Linked DNA regions of Homo sapiens: region 2 is linked to region 1. Evidence: promoter capture Hi-C in 16 types of primary human blood cells and fetal thymus (Javierre and others, 2016). All regions are on one chromosome and are shown on one strand. Each heading gives the region's core, a stretch centred on a gene start or on the middle of the fragment in contact. The rest is flanking DNA. Distances are from core to core; before and after follow the strand shown. Region 1 holds the start of ITGA6-AS1 (ITGA6 and PDK1 antisense RNA 1). Region 2 overlaps LOC105373741 (a long non-coding RNA gene).

What was found. The method cuts DNA at HindIII sites, captures the fragments that hold promoters and counts their contacts. A CHiCAGO score of 5 or more calls a contact.
Region 2: a contact is called between a fragment that was not itself captured here and the fragment with the promoter of ITGA6-AS1 in region 1, in 2 of 17 cell types (megakaryocytes and M0 macrophages). The highest score is 7.8, in megakaryocytes.

What each region holds. Positions count from the first base shown.
Region 1 is chr2:172,461,109-172,467,349 of GRCh38, reverse strand. ITGA6-AS1 (ITGA6 and PDK1 antisense RNA 1) reads left to right here and starts at 1,328. Exons shown (of 2, transcript NR_157573.1): 1 at 1,328-1,526; 2 at 2,776-3,088. ITGA6 (integrin subunit alpha 6) reads right to left here. Exons shown (of 26, transcript NM_000210.4): 2 at 1,687-1,811. PDK1-AS1 (PDK1 and ITGA6 antisense RNA 1) reads left to right here. Exons shown (of 4, transcript NR_199657.1): 4 at 2,776-3,084. RefSeq lists an enhancer at 918-1,087. The HindIII fragment of the contact is 13,641 bases long and covers 1-6,241 here.
Region 2 is chr2:172,143,051-172,149,291 of GRCh38, reverse strand. LOC105373741 (a long non-coding RNA gene) reads right to left here. Exons shown (of 3, transcript XR_923580.2): 2 at 4,316-4,441. Among named protein-coding and RNA genes, the nearest start is that of DLX2-DT, 43 kb to the right of the region's middle. The HindIII fragment of the contact is 2,790 bases long and covers 1,350-4,139 here.

The DNA of each region.
Region 1 (6,241 bases), core at 79-2,578:
AATCCAGAAAAATTACTTGTCATCTCAAGGAAACAGAGATGTGGTTTTTGGAATCTTTCAAACATTTGAAACATAAAGTACTTAGCTCTATATAGTTGCCTATTTTGTCCAACAATACCCTTTGCCCTCTCTTGATACCTAGGGTCCTGAATGCAGAAGGTAAGTGAAACTGTAAGACTAAGGGAGCCCTCCAAAATACATCTCTTAAGGCAACAATGTAAAATCTAGTATTCCAAACTGCAGCTACCATCCAAACTAACAAAAAAAATGGGTACTTCTCTATATACTCCCCAATTTTTTTATTTAACAGCATTAAATGTTCTCTTCTTTACTGGAGATGGAAGAAAAAGACTCAGATTTACTTTAGGATCTTGTAGCTGACAATGTATCAATGCCAAACAGGAGAGTTACTGTTAGTCAGAGAGACGGGGACCACAAACACCACCAGGTGCTCATTTCAGTATCAATTTAAACCCACTGTGTGACCTATATCCAAATTTTGCACTCCTCCATAAGTAGCAATACAGACACAGGTTTTAATCTTGAATCATTACAAAAACATTAAACAACTTTAGACAGAAGGAAAAATGCCAAAATGTTAAAAAATAAGTCTAGATACTGAGATTGCCAGTGGGTTTTTTTATTCTTCATAGGTCTGTGTATTTTACCAGCTTCTTAAAATTAACACATATTAGTTTCTAATAAAAGAACACATGTTATTTCTTTTCTTGAGATGGTATCTTGCTCTGTCACCCAGGCTGGAGTGTAGTGGCACGATTTTGGCTCACTGCAGCCTCTGCCTCCCAGGTTCAAACAATTCTCACGCCTCAGCCTCCTAAGTAGCTAGGACTACAGGCGTACACCACCACGCCTGGCTAATTTTTGTATTTTTAGTAGAGATGGGGTTTCACCATGTTGGCCAGGCTGGTCTTGAACTCCTGACCTCAAATGATCCACCCAACTCGGCCTCCCAAAATGCTAGGATTACAGGTGTGAGCCACCGACGCCTGGCCAACAAATGTTATTTCTAAAAGATGAAGAAGCAAGAGAAGAACATAGACACGAATCTGCAAATCTACTTAGACCGAACATATCAAACGAGGTTTGGCTAGAGCTTCTCAGTACACTAATTGCTCTGCTCAACCTACAAGAAGCCAGGTACACTGGATGTCAACATGCCTACCTCATGGTATCTTCTACCTATCCAGAGCCCTTAACAAAACAAGTCTCTATCTGAGACAGGAGGGAAAACTTTATCTCTGTTAGCCAGCTCTCATTCCAAAGGGGTCTGATATTTAAAACTGTCTTTCTCCCAAATATTTTAACAGCATGTGAGAACTTTTGGCTGATGAATACAAGATACGCTCATTCATTCTCTTCATTGCTATGAAATGAGTTTTTCCACAACCTCCTGCAGAACCTCAACACATCACTAGGTGGCAACATCCCTACACCATATCGGTTTAGAAACCACGGTTAGGAGGAGCAGCAAAACACGCGGCATCCCAGTATGATTCAGAAGTAAAGTAAGTAAATATTTTCAGGGCAAATAAAAAACAGTCAAGTCTGATGCAATTAAAAGAAGTCCTCTCTACAAGAATAAATGTTTGTCCCCACTCTCCTCCCTCATGGAAACAGTACAGGCAAGCTGCCGGAGTGAACGCTGAGTGAGGGAAAGGAACGCACCATCGTTATCAAACTCGATCCGCGTGCATGGCCCCCGGGCGGTGATGTCGCAGCTGTACAGCCCTCCCGTTCTGTTGGCTCTCTGCAGTGGAAGCGCTTCTGCCCGCGGGGCCCCCACGAGCAACCTGTTGATGAAACAGAGACAATTTGGAGATTTGAATTTAATATACGTTTAACAGTTAAATCAGTCAGAACTAGGAGATAGTGGGATTATTCTTTGTCTAGGAGTCCACTAATTCTTCAACAGCTTAGGCAGTGAGTGAGAACAAATGTAGAGTCCTATGGCTGGTTCATGCAAAACGCACAAACACAACTAAACAGGGGAAGCCAAAGAGGGGATACCAAAACGAGGAAAATAGGCCTGTCTCTCATAGTATCAGCATTTCTTGCTGGGTATGATCTGGTGTTTAAAAGACACCCTCTTCAAAGAATACAACCTCTAAGCCCCTATGATGCCAGGGATATCATATGAAACTCAAGAGAAGAAACCAAATACTTGTGACAATGGAAGGAAAAAATGGCCACACTAAATGTAATAAGCAATAATATGTCAGTTTCTAACACTGTGCCTTCCTGAGGTAGTTTTCAAGGGTAATTCTGACTATATCTTAGATTTTCAGTTTATATACTAATTGAGAGAACCTAATGGTAAGTAAGATACAACTCGACTGAATTATTCACTTGCAGCCTTGGCCTCTTTCCAATTCTTTTTTTTTTTTCCCTCCAGTTTTATTAGGGTAGAATGGACAAATAAAAAGCAGATATATTTGAGGTGTACAAGTTGATGTTTGTTCTTCCAAGTCAGTTCTTACTTCCTTGCACTTTTGTCACATTACAAGAGTTCGTCCTCTCTCATCCTATCAGTCTCCCACAAAGGATTCAGGGACAACTGGTGTAGCTCCACTTATGTACTAGGCACTGTAATATTCCTTCTTCTCCCCAGCCGAGTGTTTTTATCTCCTATAAGGAGGCCCCCAGTCCAAATCCACAGTCCTTAAAATTTCACCATCTCACAGCTTGACAGGCTCTTTAGAGATCCAATGACCTTGTTGCTAGGTCTCTTTTGCTAACACCTTTACTCACCATCAGGTTTACAATCTTTGAGGCCTGGCTGACTCATGGAACAACTAGGACAAGAAACAAAGACAAAGAACACACACCTGACTGGACAGAGATAAACCAAGAGCTGAGAGTTTTGGAAACAAGGCTGGAGCTGAGGAAAAGGACTGGGAACACGAACCTGTACAAACAACAAATTCTTACAACAGAAAACAAGCCACTCCTGGCCATCAAGAAACCCACAAATCTCAGAAGCAAAAGCAAAACAAATGAAAATACAAACCAAATAGTCTCTATTACCTTCATGCCTGTTGGGTCCCAATAAAGGAATCATTCCAATAAAGGATTCAACATATTTTTTTTAAACCAATATCATGCAGCAGGTGCCACCGGAGGCAAGTGTACCTGGAAAGCAGGGAGGGGGGCCAGATGATGCCCAGACAGAGAAGGAGGGGTGGCTCATGGATAACACATAGCCCCAGCACTGTCCTTCCTCCCAGATCCCTGGACAGTCACAGTCAGCCCCCACCTCCAAACCCACCCTACATTTGAAGGAACAAAACAGCACACACCAAGGTACAGAACTGACACACAGACTTTTAAATTAGGAACTGGAGCAGTGTCCTTGGTGCCTGAACCTTCTTGACAGAGGACAGAGGCAAGGCCGGGGCCACAAGGGTCCCCACAGGTCTGCTCCACTCCTATTCCAGTGATGTCCCCGATCCCAGGAATGCCAACAAACAAGTACCTGGGAGGTGAACTGCCTAGACTATAAGGTGAATGTGTTAAATTACTGTACTTGGCAGATGTCAGAGGTGGAGTCATGTGGAGGGTGCTGGAAGGGATAAGTGGGGTGCCAGGATCAGAGGCCCAGAACCCCAGGACTTTCACACTGGAAGCCCCTGAGAGAGACCAGTCCTCCAGTTTTACAGATAAAGAAACAGAGGCCTTGAGGAGCTTAATTACTCATCCCCCAAGATCTCACAGCTAGTGGGTGGCCATGACAAAAATTATCTTGGTGCAATGTTGTCTCCATTTCTTTACAAAGCTGCTTAGGAAGTAAAACCCAGGATTTCAAGTTTACAACCTAGTTGAAAGGGCAAAACTTACACAAATAAAACATCACAACCAAAACTGTTCTGTATGCTGATAAAAGTTAAGATAATAGAGCCAAGTAGAGGGGAAGGAAGAAAAGCATTATTGCAGTTGGGTGGAGTGAAGGCTGGGTAAGAGATTTCCTGTAAAGGTAACCACCAGCAAAGAGAAGCCTAGAAAAAGCAGCACAGGAGTCCCATTGTCTTAACTGTGTGTCTTCCTAACCACTTCCTCTTCTCACCCACACCCAAGGTGGCTACTAAGTTACCTAAGGCAGGCACAGGGCTTATTTCCTGTTTATCCCATTCCCACATTCGTTCACCTATTCACTCAACAAACGCTGATTAAGAGCCTCCTAGGATGAATAAGGAATTGCCCCCACTCCTCAATCTCTGGCCTGGGGAAGCCTGATCCGTGAACAGGTCATGAGGTCATGAAACCACAGGGAGCTAGAGGCAATGAGAGGATGGTACAGAGTGCTGTGGGCACCAGCACCTGCTGGAGAGGAAGGGAGGATGTCACTAAGAGATGACAGCGGGACTGGAGGTGGCCAGGTAAGGAACACAGCATATGCAAAGGCTGCAAGGGAAGGAGCCAGAGAAAAGGGAGAAGAGGGACACAATGGGTGACAAGAAGGGGTCGAGGATCAGCAGCCTGGTCAGCAGCGCTAAAGGACGAAGGGTCAGAGACCCTCTGAACCCCAGGCTTCTGTAGCCTGCTGTGTCCTGCAGGGTACAGCTGCTTTTGGGTGTCCTGTGGTTTAAAAAGCTGTGGAGGTTGTCCCATTTACATGCCCAGTCCCTCAGAGTGGGTTGGCTTCCCTCAGCCTCTATCTGCCACTTGTTCTCCACTCTCTGTAACTAATACGTGTGGGACAAAGAATAGGCATTTAACTCGAATTTGTTGGCTGGTTACAGGGGCTGTGGTGACAAAATTTCACAAATGCCCACACCAAGCTCTTGCAGAAGAGGTCCTCGTGTCTTACATGCGGCGGCTACTGCAGATGACAGCAGACCACATGGCAGGATGGGGGCAGCAGGCTGGTTTGGGGAAAAAGGACAACAGATTCGAAAAGAGACCTGCAAACGACAAGAGAAATGTACCCACAGAGAATAACGTTAGCTGTTGCACCGCCTCTGGGCGAGCTCAGCCTGCACATGGTCCTGGCACTGTCCTTCCTCCACCTCAGGTGGTCCCACAGGGGATGGAGGAAGCAGGAGTGTTCCACCGCCCCTTGCAAATCCCCTGGGCAGCCGTGGGAGGAAGAGCTGACACCCAGCAGCAGAGGGCGCCCCTGCTCCAGTTGCGCCCGGTCTCCTGGGACCCACCGCGATAAGGTGGCAGAACCCATCACCGAAAGGTAAGGTAAAGCTACACCTTGATGAGAGAACACAGTAACCCCAACCACATTCAGCAACTGGAGGCGCCTTCATCCTCAAGGTAAAGCTGCCCTCCCTGGTTTGGGAAACAAGCAAAGGCTCTTAATTCGCCTGGAACCAGCCTTAAAGGCAGGAGATCACAGCCCATTAGCTGAGGCTGTGCCTAGCAGGAACAATAAATAAGGTAAATAGAGCTGTGTCCAAACAATGACAGCAGAGAACAACCTATCTACTTCCTAATCTAGGTCATTTAGGGTCTGGGTGCTGGTCTAAGCTGTTCAGGACATGGTTGGCTCCTGAGCTAGCAGAGTGGGTACAGGTCCAGGAGGGACAGTCTACACCTAGGAGGACCCTCAGCCCACACAAAATCCAATTTATGCTCAAATTCCAGCTTTCTTCCCTTTCCCTCCAAGGCCCTTAAATGCCAAAAACTGGGCCCAGGCCACCCAGATGGTTCAGTGTGAAAAGCAGGTACTCTCTGGGCACTACCAGGATGCTCACAGCAACTCCTAGGACCAGGGCAGCTGCAGCACTCATTACTGACCATCCCAGTACGTTTGAAGGAGGAAAGAGCTATGTGACAACTCGACCTTCAGAGCCACAGGGACCAAGGGATATGAGTTAGGGCCTTTGTAGGGAGGTGATAGAAATTAACAGAGCAGAGCCTGAGAGGTCTATTCCCATATGCGGTCAAGGCAAGAAAAACTAAACAAAGGGCAAGAATCTGGGTGTGAACTAAGATCATTTCAAAACCGGCCAGTGGACAATGACCTCCACTGAATTTTAAAGCTGCACCGAAATAAAAACTGCCTTGGGATTTCAGCATATCAGAAACCCACACTTAAAAGGCAAAACTCAAAACCACAAAATCATCTTTAACGATAAGAAATAAACACTGAGATACTAAAATGGAATGTAAAAATCTAACGATATAAGTATAACAGTAACTGGGAATATGATATAAATTCAGGTCTTTGGAGTCTAATCAGAGCTCTGGGCACAGAGACTCAGGACTCACTATC
Region 2 (6,241 bases), core at 1,495-3,994, 320 kb after region 1:
TTTGAGAGGGAGTCTTGCTCTGTCGCCCAGGCTGGAGTGCAGAGGTGCGATCTCGGCTCACTGCAACCTCCGCTTCTTGGGTTCAAGCGATTCTCCTGCCTCAGCCTCCTGAGTAGCTGGGACTACAGGCTTCCGCTACCACGCCCAGCTAATTTTTTGTGTTTTTAGTAGAGACGGGGTTTCACCATATTGGCCAGGCTGGTCTCGAACTCCTGATCTTGTGATCTGCCCGCCTCGGCTTCCCAAAGTGCTGGGATTACCGGCGTGAGCCACTGCGCCCAGCCTTGAATTTCTTTTAGTAGGCTAGATATAAAATCGTATCATCTGCAAAAATAAAATTTTGTCTTTTCCTTTCCAAAGTTCTAAATCTCATTTCTGTTTCATCTTTAATTGCTGTCACTAGCTGCAAACTGGGAAAAACATCAAACGATAATGGTGATGGTGGGTGTTCCATAATCTATTCATGATTCTAAGAAACAGACCTCTGGTGTTTCTCATTCTGATTTTCACAACTAGAGCCCAGAAAGATTCTCATCTGCTCATTTCCTTTCACTTTACCTTATTACAGACCACTTAAAATAATCCTAATGTAATAATGTAAGTTTTAACAACACCAAGATGGTTAGTCCTCAAAGAAGTTTCCTTTTCGTCCCTAAACCACAATGCAAGAGCATTCCTTTGCCTCTATTAAATGCACACAAACACACACACACACAGCCGATGCAGCCTGTCCAACCCCTGCTTTCTTCTGATTCATGGGCTCTGGGGGGCATGAAGCAATGCTGATGCCTCAAGGGCCCCGGCACATCCGCAGTCCTCTGGCTAGGGCAGTGCCCGCAGCTCTGAGAACATCAAGAGCACCCGGGCATAAACATGTGCATTCCCATGGCAGCGCTGGCAGTCCTGGCAGTACTACACGAATAAATAGACAGCAACTGTGGGCTTGTCCTAATCAGCATAAGAAGTGAACAGGATATTGAAATGAAATGAAAATAATTACTTCTTCTCCTGCCCCTGAGACCAGGTCTGCTGAATTCTGGCTCTTTCGTTTTGTCCACCCACCCATCCATGCTAGAGGAAATTAATTTGTCTGTTCCCGCTATTTGATTCAAAGCAGGCTGAGACTGCCTTTCTAGAGTCTCAGACCTCCGCCTGCTACACACTTCTCCTTCTTTACAGAGCCAAGCTCTCCACTAGCTGCCTGCAGGTTATGCAAACCATGATCACAAACACTGGGAACCACTCACCAGGCACAATGGTACCAGGACCTGAGTGTGTGAACCTGATGCACCACCTGGGCAGAGGCCCTCCCTAGACAGCCATGTCCTCCCCAGCCCACTGTCCAAGCTTTGGAGCTGTCGGAGCTGTCAGAGCTGCCTGGAGGAAGATTGGTATTGAAGGAAATAAAAATATTGGACCCCAAAACAGACTTCTTTGGCATACTTTGAGATGGCTGTTCAGAGGGCCTGCAAACATAAGTAGCCCTGCAAAGCTGTCTTTTGCAGGTGGGGGGAGATTTGCATCTGCAGAGAATCTGCATTGATGCAGCCAGGCTTTCTCCTAAGGCCTTCCTTTGTCCAGATCTAGGAGAGATTAACTGAGAGTCTGACACATTTAAAGATCTGAAAGAACATTCACCCATCTCTCCACTCTGAGGGCTGCTACCTGTGAGGTTTCACCTGCATAACACAACCATCTTTGCTAGCCAGGGCTTCTCTTCTCCCCCTCCCATAACCTGTTTTGCCAGGATACAAGCCCCCATTCTTTCTATACCTTCAAGAGGGTATATAAACTTCTGAACCCCATTGGGATTTGGGGTAATCACTCTGTGGTTCTTCCCCATGTGCATGTTAATAAATTTGTATGTCATTTCTCTTATTAATCTCCTTCTGTGAGTCGATTTTTCAGCAAAACTTCAGAGGGTAAAGGGGAAGTTTTCCCTTGGCCTCTACAGCATCATCTTCACTGTCCTGGGGATCTAAGACTACTCTCAAGATTTTTCTTGGGTTTTCCCAACTATGGGGATAAGAGAGCCTTTAGGGATAGGAGACCTGGGAGGCAGATGACAACAGCAGTGATTCTTACCTGTCAGCCAGCCTCTGGCACTGGCTCTACAGCCACCACCAATCCCAACCCATGATGGAATAGCTCAGAGCCCTCCCTCCCGCTTCTTAGCCCTCTCCATGACTACAGAGACCCTGGTCTGGCTGGCAAGAGCGGGGAGTGGAGGGGAAGGACAGGAGTCTGCACATGTGTCCATATTGGTGTTCAAGGTTTGGGGGCAAAACAGAAGCTGCCTTTGCTTCCACCAGGTTCCCTCCCTGCTCTTCTAACCCCTCAATGAAAATCTGGGCCAAGCTGTACTCCAGCACCAACCCCAACCTCATCCATCCTAATACTTTTTCCCAAATCTGTTTAATTCCCTGGTTAACTTCATTCTGGCCCCCAGCCCTGCCTGAACAGTGCCTGCCCCTAATGCCCAGCTCAGCAATGCATGCCCTGGCCTTATGCTAATCATTACTAATTGCAGCTAACACTTATAAATGTCCTTATTCACTTATTTATTTAATCTTTACAGCAATCCTCTGAGGTAGATACTATTATTATTCCCATTTTACAGATGAGAAAACTGAGTCTCCAGGAGATTAAGTGACTTGCCCAAGGTCACATAGCTTGCAAACAACAGAATAGATTTGAGCCCAGGGTCTGCACTCCTAACCTCTAGCCTGTACCAACACTAAAAGTTTTAGTCCCTGCCCTCAAGCCAGTGTCAATCCAACCCCCAGACCCTGCAGCTCTGATGGGAGCCTGAGCTCCTTAAATCCAGCTGAGCCCCACCACTCTGCCACCCAAAGTCAGAAGGTAGCATCTGCCCACCTTGCCCCATCAGGGCTCTCCCAACATACTTTTTACCCTCCACCAACAACAGAACCTGAGTCGACGAGAGGTCAACACTATGCAGGATGAGGTGGTCAGCTCATGGAAGCCCGAGGGAGCCCAGGCAGAAAGCATCCCAGCCACGGACAAAAATGAGCTCCAGACACCCAGGCCTGGGCCATGGCACCCAGGCGCACCTTCCAGGGCTATGGAGGAGGCTGCCCCATCAAAAGCATTTCCATGTCTGGAAACACCTGTGAAATCTAAGGCGTGGGCAGTGGAAGAGGGCAGCTGTGAGCAGCAGGCACAGAAGACCTGAAGGTGAGACTCCATGGGAAAGAGGCCTGGCAGAGGCTTTCCCTCCCTCTGCAGGAAGCAGCACTATACCATTCATTCTCCTTCTGGCGGAACTCCTGACATTGACTTCTGTGAGCTCTGTGCCAGCAATTTCAGGCTACTGTTTCTCAGTTTTCTGGGCCAAATTATCTCTCCCACTTCATGTGGCTTTCCCAGGAAACAGGCCTAATTTTATTTTCAAATGGACTCAATATCCCTCAAGTCTATCCTGTCTCCCTCCCAGCCTCCACCCCCATGCTTGCAGATCCCCCTCGAAGCACTTCCAAAGGCATTCATCAATGAAAATTATTATCAGTAATCAAATGTACAATTTGTTAAGAACTTACAGGAACCAAGCTAACTCATTTTGTTCTTACATTCATAAATTCATTGAGTTATTTGAGGTAGGTAGTGTGCCCCCTTTATAGATGAGCAAGTGAAATTCTAAACTCAATTGCCTTGGGCAGGTGATTGGCATAAATGTTTTCAGAGGATCAGCATAAGACAATAGTTGACCTCTTTTATTGAGATCAAGGTAACTTAACTTTTGGAAAGGCTGGGCAGGCAAAAAAAACTTACCCTCTGGCTTCTCCAGCCTTTGAGCCACCAATTTAAGATCACTAAATTTAGAAACTCCCCTCAGCCTGGCTATGGGGTCCATTCTCTTAACTCCTAGGCTATCCCACTTCACTATCAGTCCCTTTGTTCCTAGTCAGCCCACCAGATGTAAATTGAGTTGTGTGGGAAAGAAGTAAAGAGCCAATACTGAAGAACTCTCAGTATAACTCAAAGGAGAATTCCCACCAAATAACTCAGAAGACAGAACCTTGTAATTTTAAAGTTATAGGGTTGGTGGAGGATGGGGGGCTGGGAGGTAGGGGAAAGAACACTACCTAATTCTTTAAATCCCAAGGAGAAGCAAAGCTTGCTTTAAAAATTAAAAAAAAAAAAAAAAAAAAAGCCAAGGAGGCCATCAGAATCATTCATGTCTATTTGATTATCTCATTAAGACAATGCTTTCCAACCAGTCAGTGGACAAGTAGGTAGAAGAAAAAATACCAAGAACAAACATGAAATATGCTCTAGGGAAATGAGTTCTAACCTGGGGCCATGGAATCTTCAGTGGGTTTCACAGGGTCCATGCGTATCTTGGAAACATTCTAATTTTATGTGCACGTGCATTTTTCTGGAAAGACTTTTCCATAGCTGTCATCAAAAGGCCCACCACCTGAGAAAAGAAAAAATAAAACACTAAAACCACTAAATAAATAAATAAATAAATATCTCCTAACAAATATTATTAGGAGAAATAAATATCTCCTAAATCCACAGGATTTTCTTAAACCCAGCTGCTCCTCCTTCCTGAAAATAGTGGCCTGTCCCCCACTGGCTCATGGAGGAGCTGAGGGAGTGAGCAATACCAGGCTTGGCAGATCACCTGGAAGTTCCTACCCTACCTGTGTCCACCGGGTGATGCTGGGCCTCTCTGAAGTTATGAAGGCCAAGTCGGATCCTGCAGCACCCTAGTTAAGCCAAACGGAATATTCAAAAGAGATGAAAGGAATAGCACATGAAATTTCAGCATTTTGATCCTCAAGAGAACCCAGCTGAAGTAGCCTGAGAAATTGCTCAGGGAAGGCTGGAATCGCTCAGGGAAGCAGATGGAGTTTCTGAAGGTTAGGGAGGAAGAGCATATTACGTGGACTGGGCTTGCAGGTGTAACAAGCACAGATCAGAGGCGCAACTGATTAAGGCTACAGAGATGCTGGAAAGGAACAGAGGGACTGGTCCAAAGCCAGGGAGGAAATGAAAGGCAAGACAAAGCCCTATCATGGACCAGCATTGAGAGATGAGGCTTTGGCATTTGTATAGAAGATGCCAGAGGGTTGGGCAGATGCCAGTGGAGAAAGAGACCACATGACTAGACTCTTTAAGAGAAGACTGAGAAGTGGGGCTTACATGAATAGAAAATGGAAGAAAGATGTGATTACTGAGAAGAGAAATTGGCTAGCATATGAAGTGTCAGGTATTAATACTGAAGGCACACAGTAGATAAATGAACCAGTCAGCAAAAGGCATATAAGACCAGATGCAGGTTTGCAGAAATGAAGTGACCTGGGTCACAGGAAGCAGAGGTATCCTCCCCACCACATGCCAACATACTGCCTGAGCAGAGGTCTGCTCTCAACTCTAGTAATTATTAATGTAGAATTATTACAAGTACATGTGATGATCCCAACATCCACCTCTGCCCATACCTCATCTGAGCAGCCCTTTTTCAACTGAGTAGCCAAGAACTGAAAAAATATATAAATTACAGCACAGGGAAGTCAGAAAATGACCAATAGCTTCCAGTCAGTTCTGGAACAAGTTTTGTATCTTGAATTGGGACTGCATTATTTTTCTTGATTTGTTGTAGGAAATTGTAAAATTTTCAACATCCTAATGACCATCAGTAAATGACTGATTTAAAAGAGTTTGGTTGGCTGGGTGTAGTGGCTCATGTCTGTAATCCCAGCACTCTGGGAGGCCAAGGCAGGTGGATCACAAGATCAGGAGATTGAGACCATCCTGGCTAACACCGTGAAACCCCTTCTCTACTAAAAATACAAAAAAAAATTAGTCGGGTGTGGTGGCAGGCGCCTGTAATCCCAGCTACTTGGGAGGCTGAGGCAGGAGAATGGCATGAACCCAGGAGGCAGAGCTTGCATTAAGCTGAGTTCAAGCCACTGCACTCCAGCCTGGGCAACAGAGCGAGACTTCGTCTCAAAAAACAAAAAAAAACAAAAAAAAAACCACACGCACAAAGAGTTTTGTTTAGCTATATTCTGGAATACTATGCAACTACTTAAAAGAATGAATGGCATCCATATGTGCTCACATGGGAAAATGTCCAGGATTTCTTGCTAGGTGAAGGAAAGCAAGTTGGAGATTCTATGTATAATATAATCCCACTTGTTAAAAAAAAAAAAAAAAAGCTTACCGGCCTGGGCAACATGGCAAAACCCCATCTCCACCAAAAATACAA